4 separate regions of the Homo sapiens genome follow, and all the other regions are linked to region 1. The links are contacts of gene promoters, found by promoter capture Hi-C in blood cells and fetal thymus (Javierre and others, 2016). All regions are on one chromosome and are shown on one strand. Each heading gives the region's core, a stretch centred on a gene start or on the middle of the fragment in contact. The rest is flanking DNA. Distances are from core to core; before and after follow the strand shown. Region 1 holds the start of HMX3 (H6 family homeobox 3). Region 2 has its middle 8.6 kb from the start of EBF3. Region 3 overlaps EBF3 (EBF transcription factor 3). Region 4 holds the start of EMX2 (empty spiracles homeobox 2).

Evidence for each region. Contacts are between HindIII fragments. The CHiCAGO score rates a contact against its expected background, and 5 or more counts as called.
Region 2: a fragment that was not itself captured here is called in contact with the fragment with the promoter of HMX3 in region 1 in 2 of 17 cell types (total B cells and naive B cells); the score reaches 30.2 in total B cells.
Region 3: a fragment that was not itself captured here is called in contact with the fragment with the promoter of HMX3 in region 1 in 1 of 17 cell types (total B cells); the score reaches 7.8 in total B cells.
Region 4: a contact is called between the fragment with the promoter of EMX2 here and the fragment with the promoter of HMX3 in region 1, in 1 of 17 cell types (total B cells). The highest score is 5.9, in total B cells.

Annotation. Positions count from the first base shown.
Region 1 is chr10:123,134,501-123,137,625 of GRCh38, forward strand. It overlaps HMX3 (H6 family homeobox 3), which reads left to right and starts at 1,470. Exons shown (of 2, transcript NM_001105574.2): 1 at 1,470-1,950; 2 at 2,558-3,125. The coding sequence starts at 1,551. RefSeq lists silencers at 639-758, 789-918, 1,299-1,378, 1,429-1,838, 1,849-1,898 and enhancers at 685-1,635, 2,818-3,125. The HindIII fragment of the contact is 8,924 bases long and covers 1-3,125 here.
Region 2 is chr10:129,971,346-129,974,470 of GRCh38, forward strand. No RefSeq gene overlaps it. Among named protein-coding and RNA genes, the nearest start is that of EBF3, 8.6 kb to the left of the region's middle. RefSeq lists enhancers at 1-27, 668-1,553, 1,554-2,437. The HindIII fragment of the contact is 2,523 bases long and covers 331-2,853 here.
Region 3 is chr10:129,948,528-129,951,652 of GRCh38, forward strand. The region is part of intron 6 of EBF3 (EBF transcription factor 3); the gene reads right to left. Among named protein-coding and RNA genes, the nearest start is that of EBF3, 14 kb to the right of the region's middle. RefSeq lists an enhancer at 565-1,399. The HindIII fragment of the contact is 834 bases long and covers 1,210-2,043 here.
Region 4 is chr10:117,541,058-117,544,182 of GRCh38, forward strand. EMX2 (empty spiracles homeobox 2) reads left to right here and starts at 1,689. Exons shown (of 3, transcript NM_004098.4): 1 at 1,689-2,616. The coding sequence starts at 2,211. It also overlaps EMX2OS. RefSeq lists an enhancer at 2,904-3,125. The HindIII fragment of the contact is 6,949 bases long and covers 1-3,125 here.

The DNA of each region.
Region 1 (3,125 bases), core at 220-2,719:
GTGGAATGTCCTTTCACTAAGCCGTTCTGCAAAGGTCCAGTGTGGTTCTCTAAGGACTTCGCTGCCGTCGAGACGCGCAGCGGATGCCGCTGCTTGCCGCGGCGGAGGAAGCTACGCCGCTGCGCCTTCGGTTCACCTTGCCCCCATTAAAGCGTTAGTTAGACAGCTCCAAACGCCAGCTGGCCGGAGAGACTTCCTGGGAGAAAGTGCTGTCGTCGGGGTCACAGACTCGGAGTTGATCCGCGAGCCTTGGGCACCGGCGGCCAGAGCAGAGGGGTGCCCTTCCGAGAGCAGCCGTCGGTGCCGAGAAGCTGTTGCCCCAGCAGCCCCACCGAGTGACGCGCGGGTTTTGGCCGGGTCAGCGCGCATACGCACACAGGCACACCCACTCCTGGTCCCGGGGGAAGGCTCACTCTTCGGTTTTCCAGGGCTAAAGGCCAAGGCCACGCGGATTTCTGAGTCCGAAGACGCAGTGCGAGGACTTACACCTGGATTCCCTTACTATCGGCTGGATGGTGGGTGGGGAACCCAAATCCCTCTCTTCTTGGCCTCGCCCTTCCTAGCAGGCTTTAGGAAAAATACCGAGGTCGCCGGACCCCAAAGGGTAGGAAAATGATGAGTTCTCCGAGGGCCGAGGTCACGTCCTGCCTCTTGGGCCGGCGCTGCGTGGCTCTCCAGCTGCGTGGGGGCGGCGGGCCCCTGTCCAGCCCCAGGGGGCGGGGGAGCGGCAGCTGCGAGCGCAGATAACCCCGAGGTGACCCGGGAGGGCCTGGTCCGCCCCTCCCCCCTCCCGCAGGCCTGGCGGCGGGAAGCGGGTCCCTGCGCCGCAGGGGGGAGAGGCAGGCGCGGTCTCCGGGCTCGCGGCCGTTAGTGCGCTTCGGCCAAGGGCGCCGCCTGCTCCGCGTCCCTCGCTCGCCTCCTGCGCTCGCAGGAGCGCTCCGAGTGCCTCTTTAGCGGGAGCCAATATCCTTTTGTGCTAATAGGCTTGTCCTCATTTGCTGCCTAATTGGACTATATAAAGCCAATAACGGGCGGGCTCTTATAGCCCGAAGCCAAAGCGCCAAAATCCGAGGGAAGGCGAGGAGGGGGCGGTGGCGGAGGCGGCTGCGGGGCCGGGGCTCGGCTGAGCCTTCGCCTGCCTAATCCCATTTGCCATTGTACGCGCCCAATCGCCGTATACTCCCCGCATTTAACTTGGATGACATTTTGATTTCATCATTAGCATCCGGCGCCGGATTGACGCAGCCTCGAGCCGGGGACTGCTCTTGCTGCCTCCTCCGCGGGAGCCGCAGCCGCAGCCGAGCCGCCTCGATCCCTCGGTGCCGCGGCAGGGCCGCTCCCCGCCCCTCCGCACCCCTCCCTCATGCGAGCCCGCCCGTCTGGGTCCTCACTCCGCCCTCCCGCCGTTGGATTTGCGCCCGGGGCGGCCCCCGACTTTGCGCCCCGTAGTTGAGTTCCGTTTATGGTCTGATTTCCGGCCTCTCGCCTGCTCGCCCCGCCGCCCGCCTGTCCCGCTCCCTCCCTCCCGGGGACCCGGAGGAGAGGGGACCATGCCGGAACCCGGGCCGGACGCTGCCGGCACCGCCAGCGCACAGCCCCAACCGCCGCCGCCCCCCCCACCCGCTCCCAAGGAGTCCCCGTTCTCCATCAAGAACCTGCTCAACGGAGACCACCACCGGCCGCCCCCTAAGCCTCAGCCGCCCCCACGGACGCTCTTCGCGCCAGCCTCGGCTGCCGCCGCCGCCGCCGCTGCCGCTGCCGCGGCGGCCAAGGGGGCCCTGGAGGGCGCCGCGGGCTTCGCGCTCTCGCAGGTGGGCGACCTGGCTTTCCCTCGCTTTGAGATCCCGGCGCAGAGGTTTGCCCTGCCCGCGCACTACCTGGAGCGCTCCCCAGCCTGGTGGTACCCCTACACCCTGACCCCCGCCGGCGGCCACCTCCCGCGACCTGAAGGTACCGACCTCTCTTTGAACTTTCGTTGTCCCCCTGCGCGCCCGCCCCGTCCCCGCCCCGCGCTGCTTCCCTCCGCAGTTCTGGGACCCCAGCACCCGCAAACCCTCTGCTCGGTCAGTTTTTTTCGGCCCCTAGCCTGCCCTCGCGCTGGGTTGCGCTGCCCGTTAATCCAATCCCACTTGGTGAGAAAAGAAGTGGAATTGGAGCCCCGGGCACGGTGCTTCCCGGGAAAAGTGGCCTCGGGCGTGAATAGGGAGGCTTCGGACGGCCGGGGCTTGGGACACGGCCTGGAAGGAGGGGGTGATTCCAATGCGCCTAAGCCGAAAGGGAACCGTTCTGCCGGCCCCTGGCGAGGAAGCTGAGGGAATGGAAGGAGGTGGCCGCGCTACCACCATCTGCTTGCCTGTCCTCGGGAGGAGGGGGATCCCAGGACTCGGCGTCCCTTCTCTGGCCCAGCCGAGAAGGAGGCAGCCCGCGGGAATGGTGAGGCCTCATGGCCTGGGACCTGGAGGCCGGCGCGGGTTGAGCCTGCCGTCCCCAGGCGCCGGGCCTCGCTCAAGGCTGTGTCGGTGTGCATGTGTGTGCGTCCGTCTGTCTGTCTCCCCAGCCTCGGAGAAGGCCTTGCTGAGAGACTCCTCCCCCGCCTCCGGCACAGACCGCGACTCTCCGGAGCCACTGCTCAAGGCCGACCCCGATCACAAGGAGCTGGACTCCAAGAGCCCGGACGAGATCATTCTGGAGGAGAGCGACTCCGAGGAAAGCAAAAAGGAAGGCGAAGCGGCGCCAGGCGCGGCCGGGGCGAGCGTAGGGGCGGCGGCGGCCACTCCGGGCGCAGAAGACTGGAAGAAGGGCGCTGAAAGTCCAGAGAAGAAGCCGGCGTGCCGCAAGAAGAAGACGCGCACAGTCTTCTCGCGCAGCCAGGTCTTCCAGCTCGAGTCCACCTTCGACATGAAGCGCTATCTGAGCAGCTCGGAGCGAGCCGGCCTGGCCGCGTCCCTGCACCTCACCGAGACGCAGGTCAAGATCTGGTTCCAGAACCGCCGCAACAAGTGGAAGCGGCAGCTGGCGGCGGAGCTGGAGGCGGCCAACCTGAGCCATGCCGCGGCGCAGCGCATCGTGCGGGTGCCCATCCTCTACCACGAGAACTCGGCGGCCGAGGGCGCGGCGGCTGCAGC
Region 2 (3,125 bases), core at 342-2,841, 6.8 Mb after region 1:
GCTCCGGGGGTGCGTCGGCGCGGGGGCGGGGGGGGTCCTCCGGCCATCCGGGCCGCCCTCGGGGGCGATCCACCGGCGGCTTTGAACTCGGTGTCCTTGCCGCCGTGCCGCCGACCCTCGCCCGCACACGCGCGCATCTGCACGCCAGGGCCCCGCCTGGGCTGCGCACCCGGAGGCCGGGACTGGCGCTGCGCTAGCGCCACCCGGGCTGAGCTGCAGCCTTTTGTGGGGGGGGCGGGAATCCCTCCGCTCCCAGTGACGCCTTGGACTCGCGGACCCCCATCCGCCCCAAACGACTGCCCAGGCCTTAAATTAAAAATGGCAACAATAAGCTTAATTTTTTTTTCCTCCTTAGCCGCGCCGCCCCGGTCCAAGTCTACCGCAAGCGTGGAGCCCCGAGCGCCGCGCCCCCGCCGGCTCTCCCGCCCGCGCGCCGCCCGACGGAGCCGCGGATCCCGGGCCTAGCGTGGGGCCAGGGCGCCATCTACGGGCGCCGCGCGGCTCCGGGCGGCCGCCGCCTCCTCCCTCTCAGCGTCCAGAGCCCGCTCCTCCTCCCGCCGCCGCCGCCCTCGCCCCGCGCCGCCTGCCACTTATCACAATTACCCGACGCTCCCGTGCCATTTTGCTTATGAAACACTGATTGCTAGTTATGCGGACTTTTAAGCACTATATTAAAACTTTCGAAATGAAGGCGCTCTCCTGCCTGCGATTTTTAGGTACAAGATTAAAAGATATGAAATGTAAAGATAATGCAATTTGATTTGTTAGTCTAACTCTGCGATTTGAGACTTGATGTCCCCAAAGACCAGGCGAGCTTTTCCCCTTTATTTATTTTTATTAAAACATCAATCTACGCTGGAGCTGGGTGAACTCGGTTTCACCTGGAGAACATAAAATTCTCCATACCAGAGAAATAAGCACCTTTCATAAATCAATGGTATTCCTGACACATGGATCAATTTTTGGTTGTTAATCCGAAAGGAGGAGTTTTAATTGCTTCCTGCGTTGTCGTCCAGGCATCTAGGCGCTTCGACCTTCCCCATCCCTCTCTCCAAGGGTCTGGCGTTTGTACTGGGGGAAGACGGAGAGTGAAAAACGCGGGGTCCTTCAGCTAAATCCTCGGAACCCCGGATCTTCGCCCGTGCCGGTACGCGCCTCCCCCGCGCCGAGAATCCCTGGCACGCGATCGCCTCCCCGCAGGCCCGCCGGGAAGGCCGCGAGCAGAGGCCAACGGAGGCCTCCCAGGCAGTGCTCGCCAGGAACCAAGACGCTGCCAGGGCGCGGCGCAAAAGTTCACTGCGAGGCCAGGCCTGGGCGCAGCTCATGGTCAGGGGCTCCTGCCTCCACAGTCCCACCCCGCGCCTCCGCCGCAGCCCCGCCCGCGCTCCCGTAGGCGAGAGGAGCGCACCCGGCTCCGGGGCCCCGGCAACCCGGCCCCCAGCGTTCAGTGTCCGGCCCGCCACGCGCGAAGTTCAACTTTGCTGGCGCCGCGGCCGCCTGGGGGCCGCGGGCTGGGGCGGGGAGCCCCCGACGGGATCGAGAGCGCGCTTACCTGTGCCGCTCACTCGACGGACATCGCGGGCGCCCCGGCCGCGAGGTGTCGGCGGCGCCGGCTGCGGGCCGGGAGGTGGGCGGCCCCGCGCCTTCCCACGTTCCCACCTCCCGCCCTCCCGGGAGAGCCCACGGGCCCGGCCGCGAGCACGCCAGTGCGCACGCGCCACACTGCCTTCCACCGCGGGCGGCGGGCTAGGGCCGAGCGGGGGCGCGTGGAGGTGCCCGTAGGCGGCCCAGCGGCCCGCCTGCCACCGTGCCCCGGGGCCGCAGCTGCGCCCAGCGCTAGCCACCTGGAGGAGAGGCCTCCTGGGCCACGCGCGGGGCTCCTCCGCGGGGAGGCCCCCTTGCAAGGACCTGAGCCCCTCTCTTTCGTCGGGGGCCCGAGGGTATTCGTGCGCCTCCTTGGCCAAAAGAGTGCGCCAGGCCTGGAGTGGGGCACCGCTGCTGTGGACACCACTTCGCAGGGCATCTGGAAACGGGTCCCAGGCCCTGGGCGGCTTGAAGCCGTCTGTGTGGATGAGCGCACACTCCCGTGGGCAGGAGATGGCTGGGGTTCTCCCGGTCCTTTTTGGTAAAGTGGATGAGAGGACATCTTCCTGGATACGGATAACTTAATGCAAAGTACTCTACTGGGCCCCGTGACGGCTAAAATGAAATGGGAAGAGGCAAGAGATCGCCCACGAAAACAGAGAAAGCCCGGGGTTCTCCAATAAAGCCACGCTATGGAAGAAAAAACAAAAACAAAAACAAAAAAACGCCTGGATGGCTCCTAGATGAGCTTTGCGTTTAGAGCAATCTCAGTGAAGGAGGGCTTCGGCCGCCCTTCAGAGGCCAGGCAAGCCTGACCACTCCACTCCCATTTTTGATGTCACCCAGCAAATGACCAGAGGTGTAACTTTTCTCATAAGTATCTGGAGCTGCTGCTCTGGAAAAGAAAAGGGGTCAGGCGGGGGTGTGACCTGCATCCCCAACCTGATGGCCGCCCTGGGCTTGGGAGGGGCTGATTAGCCCAGACCCTGGCTCCGGGCCCTGGGCCCCTACCCAGGGCTGCTGCGCTTTTTCTAATTTGCCTCTTCCGGGAGAACCTGGGACTCCTGGAAGATCCTACTAATTCCTATCCATCTGCTTCTTCCAAACCTAAGTGTGATGTAGATACCTGAATAAAGACAACTTTCTTATTGCCGAGATTTGTCTGAAACAGAAAGCACTTTTGTGGGAATGTGGGCCTCACCCTCCTGTATCCATCGCTTTTTCTCGCCTGTTTCTTGCTCCCAGGCTTGTTTCGTGCTCTTCACTTTAAGCTTTTATAGTGAACGTTGAGTGTGCCGAATCATGAAATCTTACTGGAAGGGAAAGTTATTTTTGGCCATTTATTTAGCAAAAGGCACTCTAGAGAATGCAACCCAGAAATGTACTTTATTATGATCACTTAATGTAAGAAAAGAACTAAATAACGAATATTTCCCCTTTGTCATCTTCACTTGGGAATCATTTTTAATGTGAGCCAGCATGAAACCATTTAAGCAATATGCAATATTTTAAGATATAAAATTACCCATGTTTTTAATAGC
Region 3 (3,125 bases), core at 377-2,876, 6.8 Mb after region 1:
CAACTGCAGACTTTAGTTCATATTCGTGTATCAGCATTGGCTCAGGTGTAATGAGGATACCACACCAAAGCAAGACGTTAACACTGGGGGAAACTGGGGGGTGGGGGGAGGTGGGGGGATATGGGAACTCAGTACTCTCTGGTCATTTTTCTGTAAACCTAACACTGCTCTAAAAAATAGTCTATTCAGTGTTTTTAAAGCGTTATGAGAACACCTTTAAATCTGCATCAGATGCAGAGGAAGACAAGGCCAGGTTAGGGGTGCCTGTTGCTGGTGTGGCTTCAATGTCCCTGCTTCATGCCCTGCCCCCCAGGCTGTTTGCATCTCCCAGTCCTTCCTCCTGACTATGGGATGTCATTCTGCAGAGCCGGACGTGTGGTTCTTGACAATGAAAACTTGGAAAGGACACCTGCATTAATCTGTCAGAAGAGCATTTAGGCCCCTGCCAGCCATATCCCCTGGTGCTGAAGTTCTTACAAAACTTAAGAGGCACTCGTGCAGTGGCTCATGCCTGTAATCCCAGCACTTTGGGAGGCCAAGGCCCGAGGATCACCTGAGGTCGGGAGTTCAAGACCAGCCTGACCAACATGGAGAAACCCTGTCTCTACTAAAAAAAATACAAAATTAGCTGGGCATGGTGGCACATGCCTGTAATCCCAGCTACTCGGTAGGCTGAGGCAGGAGAATCACTTGAACCCGGGAAGCGGAGGTTGCGGTGAGCCGAGATCGTGCCATTGTACTCCAGCTTGGGGCAACAAGAGCAAAACTCCGTCTCAAAAACACACACAGAAAAGAAAAGAAAAGAGAAAAAGAAAACTTAGGGGGCACTCAGGGAGGAGCCCCTCCCTAAACCAGTGAGCAGCATCCCAGGCTCCAGTGCCAAGAAGACTAAGCCGGCTTTCCTGGGTGTTACCTCAAATAAAAGGGACACTCCCCCATGGGGCCTAAATGACCCTGTTCCAAGTGATGGGACTCGTGGGGGAACGTGACCTTTGATGCAGGCCCCATCACTGCCCAGAGTTGGGGTGACCCTGCTAGGGATCCCCACATGCACGCCTGGGGAAGGCGCACGCTGCCTGCCCATGCCCATAATCAAATCCCGGGCTTGTACTGCACATATGTCACCCTCGGATGGCCCCAGCCCAGGCACAGGCCTCCAGACCTGTTCTTCAGCAGCTCCCTAACATCCAGATTGGCCATCTCTGTGCAAGCTTTCTGATTCAATGAAAACTTAGAGAAAGCGGGAGGGGGTGCAGTTCCTTACCAAACCATTGTGGAAACCTGGACTCAGCTGGCAGGCCTCAATGGTCAGGGTTGGTCTTTCTCCCTTTGTAAATTCATCATCACAAGGGCAAATGCTTTTAGGGCCTTAAACACTGCCAAAGTTTTGTCTCCTTCTGTGCTTTAACATGGCACCCTGCCCCCAACTGCTTTCTGCTGAGAGGGACAGAGGAAAATATAGGCAGGAGGGTGGAGGGTGGAGGGAGGAGGGAGGAGGGAGGAGGGAGGGGAGGGGGGCGGAGGCAGGGGCGGCGGCTGGAGCTGCCTGTCTGGGCAAATGCACGGCCTCCTCTCCAGATGTGCAGGCAGCTCCGTCTTCCAGCAGAGACACGCTGGAGCCGACTCCTTCCGTTCGCGGGGCCTGGGCTCCATGTCCTACAACAACACAACCGCGAGCCCCTTCCTTTCCGCACATGTTAAACTCATTTCCTAGTGAATTACTGGGAAGGCGCGGCTGCTGCCCCCACCACCGTTTGCAGAGGATGCGCCCCATCCACTCGGGCACCACAGCCCTGCATGAATTTTGAGTATTTTCTAGCTGAGCAACTTCCAGCGAAGGAATTGGAGAGGGATCGTTTTCATTTGTGTTGTTTTTAAGGGGAAGGGGAAATGAGTGATTCAAAAACAACTAAAATAAGAGTTTCCCTATACCCCTCCCTGCAGTGCTCTCTATCGAATTGTTGGCAAATTTATAGCATTTACTCTTTTGACAGATATGTCTGACCTTTTTCTGAAAACATCGTTTTGAAAACAGTTTTCTCAAGCTTCTACAATTTAATGAACGCTGGTTACCCCAAAGTCTAAGAAGCTTATAAAATTCAACAAGAACAACAACAAAAAAAAACCCCTTAACCCATGAAATTACTGCACTAATTTTTCTAAATGATAGCCATATTTTTATTAAAGCATGAATAATGCCAGCATAATGTCTCATTATATAGAGTTTGGACCACAAACATTTTTGGGAGATTTGCTATTAAGATAAACAAACAAGAGGAGCTTGTGTTCTGGCAAGCTGACGGAGGGAATGGTTTTCATTTTCTCCAAGTGTAGGCTGCAGAAGCTTTGCCAACTGCAGGTTAAGCTCCTTGAGTTTTCACTTCCTGTACCCCCACTTGTCAATCACTTCCTGTCTGCAATGACAATTTCCATCATTAGAGCTTGGAATTTTTATCTTCTTCAACGTGTCTCCCTTTGCCACTGTTTGAATTCTGATAAATTATTCACCATCTTTAAAAAGTAACCAACAATTACAGCATCACAGTGAGCCACCTATGCCTAGCAAAGATCACCGTCCTCCTGGTCTGTCTCCTAAAGGCTTTGACGAGGCCAGCTTCTCCTGCTTTCTTCGGCATCACGAGAAGGCCTCTGGCCAGCCCCAATTATCTTCTGGTGCACAGAGTAATTATTTGCTTCCTGTAAGCATGCGTAACAGAACCTCGAGTTTGGACGGCTTTCCATAAAGTAATCCAATTCACCCATGCCATCCTAACACAATTACAGGCACTGCAATATCTTCGCTCCTCACCTGATAAGGCTGCCGCAGCGGTGCAGGATGCTTTCCGTCAACATGCCTCCCAGAGTATAGCTTCTGACAGCCCTGCTTCCAGCCCTTGCCTCCACCCCTGCACGTTCATACCCGGCTGCATGCTGCTGCAGGGCCTGGGGAAGGCAACACCACGAGGTTTTCACCCTTGCACAGGCAGACGGGAATCCGAGTTGGTGGAGAGTGATGCGGAAGTCATTGTGGGTGTGTAGCTTGTTTTCAAACCCAGCCCTTGACTGGCCTGGCGGTGGAGTCTTTACCCAGCTCAGGCAGCCATAAATCTCGCAGGCCTCCTAGG
Region 4 (3,125 bases), core at 439-2,938, 5.6 Mb before region 1:
CTGAGACCTGTCCCCTCAACTATGCATCTGGTGGCAGTGCAGCCTGGCTCACGGTGGACTTCACTCTTCTCCTCCCATTGCCATCGGCTTCCCAGGTTTCACGGCAACCTAGTCACCAAACACAGGCAATTCTGCGTTCTTAGGAGAAATGACAGGGGCCTGGGAGTAATAGTTTTAAACGACGCTAGAATTTTTTTTTATCATTAATTGTAAACGTGCAAAATACCTGCTGGTACTTCACTTTAGAAGAATGTAATTGGCAAAAGGAAAAAAAGGAAAAAAGAGGCGGCTGATGAATAGATAATAGATCTTTAACCACCAATAAACAGAGAGCAGCGCCAGCAGCCTGGGGATGTGATCATAATTATGCCGCCGCGCGAGCCAATGGGGACGAGGGAACTCGGTCCTAAAATCATCCCAAAACCGAAGGCGAGCTCGAAAATGCGGACACGGCCCGGGACCGGAGATGCGATCCGTAGTCGTTAGTTGCACTGGGTTTGCACAGCAACCACCACCCCCCCACCAACCCCGGGACAACAGATGGCATAATAATAATAATAGAAATAATAATAATAAAATAATATCATCTATAATAATAATAACATTGACCACACTGACAAAAATAATTACGACGGAACCTTAATAGTACAGTAGCACCATATCGGGCTCTCCCCTGACCTTGGACTGCCGGTCCCAGATATTCCAGAAGGAATTGTTTTGGGGAAGGAGGTGAGCACCCTCCCAGACAGAAAACGCTAGAGACCGTGGGGCGAGAGAGGGAGAGAGTTGGAAGCCCACTGCTCCGGCGGGGTCGGCAGCTCCCGGTCTCAACTCGCAAACGAACGAGCCGGGTCAAGAATCGCGAACGCACCGACCCTGGGACCTCGAGGCTAAGCGTGGTTGATGGGGTGGGAGGACCCCGTACCCCTCACTCCAGGATCCCTCCTGGCCTAGGAAACCGCTGGGAGTTTTGCTAAGTGTGGGGATTGGTATAACCGAACGGCGCCTTTAGCCCGGGAACCAGCCCCTGCCCGCTTACCCTCGCGGTGCTCTTGGGGCGATCCCAGTTCTCCCGACGCGGGGCCGCGTAAGGCAGCAGCGGCGGAGCGCTAGGCTAGAGGAATCTGTCTGTCCTTCTGTCCTACCAGCTTGGGCGAGGCAGGCTCGGGATTCAGGGGGCCGCAGCGGAGGCGGCGCCGGCCAGGGACTCTGCAGGGACCGGGGTGCCCCGGAGGGAGTGGTGCTGGTGGAGGAGGAGGCGGTGGCTGAGGGGGAGTAGGTGGGGAAAGAGGAGGAGGAAGAAGAGGAGGAGGAGGAAGAAGAGGAGGAGGAGGAGAAGAAGAAACTGGAGGAAGAGGAGGAGGCGAAGGAGGAGGAGAAGCCGCAGCGGGCGCCGCAGGAGCGAGTGAGCTGGGAGCGAGGGGCGAAGGCGCGGAGAAGCCCGGCCGCCCGGTGGGCGGCAGAAGGCTCAGCCGAGGCGGCGGCGCCGACTCCGTTCCACTCTCGGCCCGGATCCAGGCCTCCGGGTTCCCAGGCGCTCACCTCCCTCTGACGCACTTTAAAGAGTCTCCCCCCTTCCACCTCAGGGCGAGTAATAGCGACCAATCATCAAGCCATTTACCAGGCTTCGGAGGAAGCTGTTTATGTGATCCCCGCACTAATTAGGCTCATGAACTAACAAATCGTTTGCACAACTTGTGAAGAAGCGAACACTTCCATGGATTGTCCTTGGACTTAGGGCGCCCTGCCCGCCTTTTGCAGAGGAGAAAAAACTTTTTTTTTTTTTTGCCTCCCCCGAGAACTTTCCCCCCTTCTCCTCCCTGCCTCTAACTCCGATCCCCCCACGCCATCTCGCCAAAAAAAAAAAAAAAAAAAAAAAAGAAAAAAAAAGAAAAAAAAAGAAAAAAAATTACCCCAATCCACGCCTGCAAATTCTTCTGGAAGGATTTTCCCCCCTCTCTTCAGGTTGGGCGCGTTTGGTGCAAGATTCTCGGGATCCTCGGCTTTGCCTCTCCCTCTCCCTCCCCCCTCCTTTCCTTTTTCCTTTCCTTTCCTTTCTTTCTTCCTTTCCTTCCCCCCACCCCCACCCCCACCCCAAACAAACGAGTCCCCAATTCTCGTCCGTCCTCGCCGCGGGCAGCGGGCGGCGGAGGCAGCGTGCGGCGGTCGCCAGGAGCTGGGAGCCCAGGGCGCCCGCTCCTCGGCGCAGCATGTTCCAGCCGGCGCCCAAGCGCTGCTTCACCATCGAGTCGCTGGTGGCCAAGGACAGTCCCCTGCCCGCCTCGCGCTCCGAGGACCCCATCCGTCCCGCGGCACTCAGCTACGCTAACTCCAGCCCCATAAATCCGTTCCTCAACGGCTTCCACTCGGCCGCCGCCGCCGCCGCCGGTAGGGGCGTCTACTCCAACCCGGACTTGGTGTTCGCCGAGGCGGTCTCGCACCCGCCCAACCCCGCCGTGCCAGTGCACCCGGTGCCGCCGCCGCACGCCCTGGCCGCCCACCCCCTACCCTCCTCGCACTCGCCACACCCCCTATTCGCCTCGCAGCAGCGGGATCCGTCCACCTTCTACCCCTGGCTCATCCACCGCTACCGATATCTGGGTCATCGCTTCCAAGGTACGTGCCACGTCGCGGAACTGCAGCGCGCCGCTCCCGCCGCATCCTTCACTGCCCCCGGCCTGCTCCGGGTGGGCGCTTGGCAAGGCCTGGGCGGAGGTTCCTCCGGCTCGCGGGCCAGCGCGCCCTGTTGGGAAACTAGGCGGCGCGGGGCCGGGCGTGGTGTCGATCCCCAGTCTCCGAAGCTACGACTGGTTTGGAGTGATGGCCTGCGGGCCGCTTGACCCTTTGGGAAGGGGTGCGAACGGAGAAGTTGTCCCCCAGTGCGCTCGAATCAGAGCAGGCTGGGCTGTGCGTGCCCGGCGCCGCGGAGCCCAGAGCCCGCGGGATCCCCAGGCTCCTGGTACCCTCGGCAATGCCCCCAACCGTCCTGGCTCCGAGGGGCGCGGACAGGACTCGGCCGCCAGGCTTGCTTTCGACTGCGTTCGACCCTGTTCACCACCCACTTTGCGCCCCTTCAGTCCAGACCCGCGGCTTCTTAGTCTTCCACCCTCTTCTGGAGGCGAGAG